2 separate regions of the Homo sapiens genome follow, and region 1 is linked to region 2. Evidence: promoter capture Hi-C in 16 types of primary human blood cells and fetal thymus (Javierre and others, 2016). All regions are on one chromosome and are shown on one strand. The core of a region is centred on a gene start or on the middle of the fragment in contact, and the rest is flanking DNA. Distances in the headings are between cores, read along the strand shown. Region 1 overlaps GATAD2B (GATA zinc finger domain containing 2B). Region 2 holds the start of NPR1 (natriuretic peptide receptor 1).

Region 1 (3,153 bases), core at 485-2,984, 200 kb before region 2:
TCCTCCCCTTTTTAAAATTTCTTTTGTCTGTAGCAGTGATGGTTCTAGCCTCCCCCTTACCCTCTCTACCCCTCCCCTTTTCCATGTCAGCTCCAACCCTGCTCTGTGAATGGAGTCAACCAGCTGACTGAGTGTTGGCATCATGCCAGGGGCTGCAAAGCAATGAGAATGTGCGCGCGCTCGTGTGTGTAAGTGTATACAGAACACAAAGGGAAAGGCCTGCAGTCTAGGAAATCACAGGCCATTATATAAGGAAGTCTGCGTCATCTCTGCTTGCTTGGGCTGATGGACAAGGAGAGGGAGGGGGGAGGCTTAGAGCAAGAAAAATACCCTTTTGACACATCCACACATACACTTTTTTCCTTGCTGTCTTAGAAAGAAAAAGGTATTTGTGTTGTGGCAAAACGAGAGAGCTTCTGTGTGCAAGTGTTATTGACCATGTTCCTAGTAGAAGTAGTAACTGTCCTGGATCTCCTTTTTTATTTTTTTATTTTTTTGAGACAGGGTCTCTGTCACCCAAGCTGGAGTGCAGTGATGTGATCACGGCTCACTGCAACCTTGACCTCCTGGGTTCAAGCTATCCTCCCAACTCAGCCTCTTGAGTAGCTGGGACTGCAGGCGTGTACCACCACACCTGGCTAATTTTTGTATTTTTTATTGAAATTTGGTCTTCCTGTGTTGTCCAGGCTGGTGGGTCTCTTCTTTCTGTTCCCATTCAAAGGTGTATGTGCTTGAGAAAAGAATGATTAAAAGAGAAATGCCTCCTGGATTTTACAGCTGTAGTTTGTTAAGATACTTAGGGGTGAGGAGCAAGGAGGCAGGGGACAGGCCACATTGTGTGGCTTTTTTGTTTTTTGTTTTTGTTTTTGTTTTTGACAGTCTCACTTGGTAGCCCAGGCTGGAGTGCAGTGGTGTGATCTTTGCTCATTGCAACCCCTGCCTCCCAGGTTCAAGTGATTTTTGTGCCTCTGCCTCCCGAGAAGCTGAGATTACAGGTGCCCACCACCACACCCGGCTAATTTTTGTAATTTTTTTTTAGTAGAGACAGGGTTTCACCATGTTGGTCAGGCTGGTCTCGATCTCCTGACCTCAAGTCATCCACCTGCCTCGGCCCCCACGGTGCTGGAATTACAGGCGTGAGCCACTGCGCTTGGCCGACTGTTTCTAATCATTCAGAATTGCCAAGGGTACAGGGGTGGGTGGGGGAGAGGGGTTGTTCTTAAGGAGAAGCAAAAAGCCAGATAATAGAGCAAGTAATATCTATTAACTACTCATTCGAGACTCCCCCTTCTTTTTTATTTCTTCTTTTCTGTTTAGTATGATATTATCAAAATGCGGTATTCTTTCCCTGCCATCTGCCAGAGTTAGAATTGTACAAAAGGACAGTCAAACAGCACATGGAAGGAAGGAAAAATTAGAGATTGTTCTAAGTGTCCATGCATTGCAAGTGTTACAATTTTGGGGTTCAGTTGTAGTGATTGTGTCTTTCATTGGCAATTAGGGGATCAGCATTCATTTAGAAATTATAATTCTGCTCAGTTTAGTATGATGTCTTTTTTTTTTTTTTTTTTTTTGTAGACAGTGTCTCGCTCTGTTGCCAGGCTGGAGTGCAGTGGCGCATTGTTGGCTCGCTGCAACCTCCGACTCCTGGGTTCAAGCGATTCTCCTGCCTCAGCCTCCTGAGTAGTTGGGACTACAGGCCTGCGCCACCATGCCCAGCTAATTTTTGTATTTTTAGTAGAGACGGGGTTTTTACCATGTTGGCCAGGATGGTCTCGATCTCTTGACCTCATAATCCGCCCGTCTTGACTTCCCATAGTTCTGGGATTACAGGCGTGAGCCACTGCACCCGGCCTGATGTCTTTTCTTAAATTCTCTTTATGTGCCTCCTAGGTGTGATATTTATGAAGCAGCTTTTGTGTTAGGTGAAAATGAGAAAGTATATTAAAGAATAAAGTATGGGGCCGAGAGCGGTGGCTCATGCCTGTAATCCCAGCACTTTGGGAGGCCGAGGTGGGTGGATCACATGAGGTCAGGAGTTTGAGATCAGCCTGGCCAACAAGGTGAAACCCTATCTCTACTAAAAATAAAAAAATTGGCCAGGTGTGGTGGCTCATGCCTGTAATCCCAGCACTTTGGGAGGCTGAGGCGGGCGGATCACGAGGTCAGGAGATAAGAGACGATCCTGGCTAAGACAGTGAAACCCTGTCTTTACTGAAAATACAAAAAATTAGCCGGGCGTGGTGGCTTGCGCCTGTAGTCCCAGCTACTCGGGAGGCTGAGGCAGGAGAATCGCTTGAACCCGGGAGGCGGAGGTTGCAGTGAGCCAAGATCGTACCACTGCACTTTCAGCCTGGGCGACAGAGCAAGACTGTCTCAAGAAAAAAAAAAATTAGCCAGGCATGGTGGTGGGCACCTGTAATCCCAACTACTCGGGAGCCTGAGGCAGAAGAATTTCTTGAACCTGGGAGGTGGAGGTTGCAGTGAGCCTAGATTGCACCACTGCACTCCAGCCTGGGCGACACAGCAATACTCTGTCTCAAAAAAAAAAAAAAAAAAAAAGGAATAAAGTATGGGTCACACTGTTACAGTTGGTTTTATGTGAGTTTATTTTTGCTTCTGACCATTCAGAATAACAGCACTGATGGGGAGAGTTGGGAATGAGAGGGAACTTTCAAACTCGTTAATCCTGTAGTAAGAGTTTTTATCAGGTTGCAGTCTAGAGGAAATTCCTTAATTTGATTGGGAACTTGTATATTTTTGTTAAAGCCTGTAAATTTCTCTTCTTGCCACATCTTTACAAGCAATAGTCTTTGAACGTCTGTATTTTTTGGTGTTAATATCTGTGCTTTTTTTCCTTTTGTTAGGAAGTGAATATGAGGTTATTACTTTCTTTAAGGATTGTAGGATGAGCTGGTCACAGTGGCTCACAGCCGTAATCCCAGCACCTTGGGAGACCATCGCAGAATTGCTTGAGCTCAGGAGTTTGAGACCAGCCTGGGCAACATAGGGAGATTCCATCTTTACAAAAAATTAGTCGTGGCATGTGCCTGTGGTCCTAGCTACTCGGGAGGCTGGGGTGGGAGGCTGCAGTGAGCCATGATTGCACCACTGCACTCTAGCCTGGAAAACAAAGTGAGACCCTGTCTCAAA
Region 2 (3,342 bases), core at 434-2,933:
TAACTCCCGGCTCAGCCTAGGCCACAGCAGGAGAAAGTCGAAGGGTGGAACGGGCGGGTGCGGGGCGGTGGGCGGGAGGAGGAAGGGGGAGGCGGAAGGGAGGAAGGAACGGGTAGGGAGAGGGGGATAGTGGAGCTGAAGGTGGAGAAGGATGGGGCCAGGAGGGAGAGAGGAGGGAGAGGGAGGGGGAGAAGAGAGGGGATGAGGCGCAATGAGAGGAGAGGATGAAAGAAGGGAGAAGGCTATAGGGAAGAGAGAAAATGTGGGAGGGAAAAAGGGACCGGAACCGAGCTGTGCTAGGGTGGGAGGGAATGAGTGGGGGTCGGGGAGATGAGAGGATAGAGACGTGGTGGGGGTGGCGGAAGAAGAGAGGGAAATAGAAACTCAGCTGTAGAAAGGGCCAGGGAGCTGAAAGTAGAATGAAGAACGGCGAGGAGAAAGAAGAGTGCCCCCAGATGAGAGAGAAAGTCCCGATGCCTCCGGCAGGTCAGAGGGGAGGCCCTGCGGCTAAGCGGCGGGACGGGGTGTGCCAGCGTCTCACCTCGGCCTTTGCGCGGCATGGTCCGCAGCAGCCTGGTGTAGTGGCTGAGGTCGTCCTCGGCGAACTCCAGGTGGTCCACCGTAATATTGAGGCGGTCGCGGACCCGCATGAACAGCCCCTCCACGAGGAAGAAGCAGTGCTCTTCGTCACCCGGCCGGTAGGCGTAGAGCATGAGCGCTTGGCGCTCCCAGCCCAGCCGTCGGTGCAGCGCCGCCACGAAGTCCCCCAGCTTGGCGTAGCTGGGCCCCGCGCGGGTGGTCAGCGCATACTCGTCCTTGACACCGAAGCCCAGCGCCGGGGCGCCGGCGGTCAGCAGCGGGACCCGCCAGTGCGCGGTGAAGCGCCCCACTGGGGCGGCGGCGTACACGCAGCCGGGGCCCAGGAACACAGCGGGGTTGTGCTCCCACTTGAGGTCCACCGCGGCCAGGGGCGCTGCGGTGTCGGAGCAGACGCCCAGCGCGTTTTCGCTGCTGCCCAGCACCGTGCGGACCGTCCAGCCCGGCAGCAAGTCGGGGCGCGCCTTCACCTGGGCCAGGGCCAGCTCCACGGCGGGTCCCACGCGCGCCCACGACCAGGGGTACGAGGTATTGGCCAGCGGCAGTACCACGGCTACCGTCAGGTTGCCCGCGTGGCTGCCCCGGAGCAGCAGCAGCAGCGGCGGCAGCAGCAGGAGCAGGAGCAGGCGCAGGCGGGAGCCAGCGGGGCGCCGGGGCCCCGGCATGGCCTCAGCGGGCACCGCAGCAGGCGAGCGCTCCTACCATGGCCTCCTCGGTCCCCTTGGGCTCAGCGGCCGGTCCCAGGCATCAGGCGCGTCCCTATGGGAAGGAGCAGGAGCGGGACGGGGACGCTCACCCCGGGGCTCGAGGCCCCCTGTAGCTGCGACGGTCTGGGCCGAGAGCGCAAGGGGCGCGACCGAGGGGGGCGCGCAGGGCGCCGCGGAGCAGGTGGGTGCCAGGAGAACGTCGGGCTGGAGAGGACCCGAGTGTGAACAACTGGGAGTGTGCGTGCGTGTTAGAGAGAGAGAGAGAGAGAGAGAAAGGGTGCGAGTGAGCGCTTCGTGAAGAAGGATGAGAGAGGGCGCGCGAGGGAGGAAAGAGGAGTGTGTGTTTGTAGCGTGCGTGAGCGCCTGCCCCAGGGAGTGTGCCAGAAGGGGCGTCCGGCCGGCCCAAGTCTCCGGCTATCCGGAGGGAACCGTGGAGGACCCGAGCCAAGCTCCGAACCCTCCCTCCCAGCCGCTTCCCCTCCCAGACTCAGTGACAGAAGAGCCAATCCAGGATCTTTAACTCCTTCCTCCCCGCCGCCCAGCCCGCGCGCTTCCCCGTGGACCATCTTCCCCGGTCTCGGCCGCCCCACGCCTACCTCTTTGGAGGACAGGACCCTCTGAAGGTGCGCCCTCGCCGGGATGGAAAGGACGGCTGAACGGAGGGTGTGTGTGGAAGCAACCGGGGCCCACTTGCGCCCCACCTTTTCCCTCGCCTCCTACCTGGTCTCCTCGGGGGAAGAGGGAAAGGTGTGCTGGTTTGGGATCCTGGCAGGAAACTGAGTGAGTGCGTGGATGTGTGTGTTTGGGTGTGGGGTGGAAGGTGACGGGTTTCTGGAAAGTCCGTTAAAGTTGAAGGTGAGCCCAGAGTGCTTGTTACCCATTCCTTCTATGATCTCCCTCTCTTTCCCTCCCTGCCACCTTCCAGACTGTGCAGATTAGCTGTGAAAAAATGATCTGGTGTCAGAGAGGAATTAAATCTTTAGCGCCCAAATTGTAGGAAGATGGGGAGAGTGGGTGGGTGTCTGGGAGGGAGGAGGTTCACACCTCAGGGACGCCCCAAGAAAATGACTGTTTTGTGTTGAGGGTTGTTAAAATGAAGGCTGTGGGAGATGACCACTGGAGGCGTAAATTGGGGAGTGGGTTTTGGAGCACTTGACAGCTGGGCCCCCGGTGCAGACTGCTGTGGAATCAGTGTGCCCTCTAATGGTCATCGGGGGTTATTGACGGCATTGCAGCGCCAACCTCTCCAACGCTGCGCCTAAGCAGGACATAAGATCACCAAACTTCAGGTCAGCAAACATTTCCAGAGAACCTTCGGTGCATTAAGCACCCACTAGGTGCCGAGGGCATAAAGATGAATATATATAGTCCGTGCCTTTGAGGAGCTCCATTTGGGACAAATAACCGTAATGCAACATGCATTAAGCACTACAGGGGAGACATGGATAAATTGCTAAAGGACTCAGATGAGGGCTATTCATTCTGCTTGGATTGGGGCCAGAAAATCTCCAAAAAAGAAATAATTCAAGAGGATGGAAGGATGAGAAAGGTATTCTGTGTAGACAGAGCAGAATGTTGAAGTACATTTCCTATATATGGAATTTTAGGAGACTTGAATATTCTTATTATCTAGAGCAAATTGTGGTCGATAGGCCAACTTGAGATGGCAGGCATGCTTTGGCTTGCATTCTCTTTATGTATATTGTATTTAATTCCCCACACTTAAATATCATAAGATGGGGCCGGGCAAGGTGGCTCAAGCCTCTAATCCCAGCACTTTGGGAGGTCAGGGTGGGTGGATCATGAGGTCAGGAGTTCAAGATCAGCCTGGCCAAGATGGTGAAACCCCGTCTCTACTAAAAATACAAAAATTAGCCAGACATGGTGGCGGCCGCCTGTAATCCCAGCTACTTGGGAGGCTGAGGTAGAGAATTGCTTGAATCCGGGAGACAGAGGTTGCAACGAGCCGAGATTGCGCCACTGCACTCCAGCCTGGGCAACAGAGCAAGACTCCGTCTCAAAAAAAAAAAAAAAAAAA

What was found. Contacts are between HindIII fragments. The CHiCAGO score rates a contact against its expected background, and 5 or more counts as called.
Region 1: a contact is called between a fragment that was not itself captured here and the fragment with the promoter of NPR1 in region 2, in 1 of 17 cell types (M1 macrophages). The highest score is 5.5, in M1 macrophages.

What each region holds. Positions count from the first base shown.
Region 1 is chr1:153,878,184-153,881,336 of GRCh38, reverse strand. All of the region lies in intron 1 of GATAD2B (GATA zinc finger domain containing 2B), which reads left to right. Among named protein-coding and RNA genes, the nearest start is that of GATAD2B, 43 kb to the left of the region's middle. RefSeq lists a silencer at 10-304. The HindIII fragment of the contact is 8,275 bases long and covers 1-3,153 here.
Region 2 is chr1:153,677,029-153,680,370 of GRCh38, reverse strand. NPR1 (natriuretic peptide receptor 1) reads right to left here and starts at 1,683. Exons shown (of 22, transcript NM_000906.4): 1 at 542-1,683. The coding sequence starts at 1,262. RefSeq lists a silencer at 883-942 and enhancers at 484-1,464, 1,465-2,446. The HindIII fragment of the contact is 5,247 bases long and covers 1-3,342 here.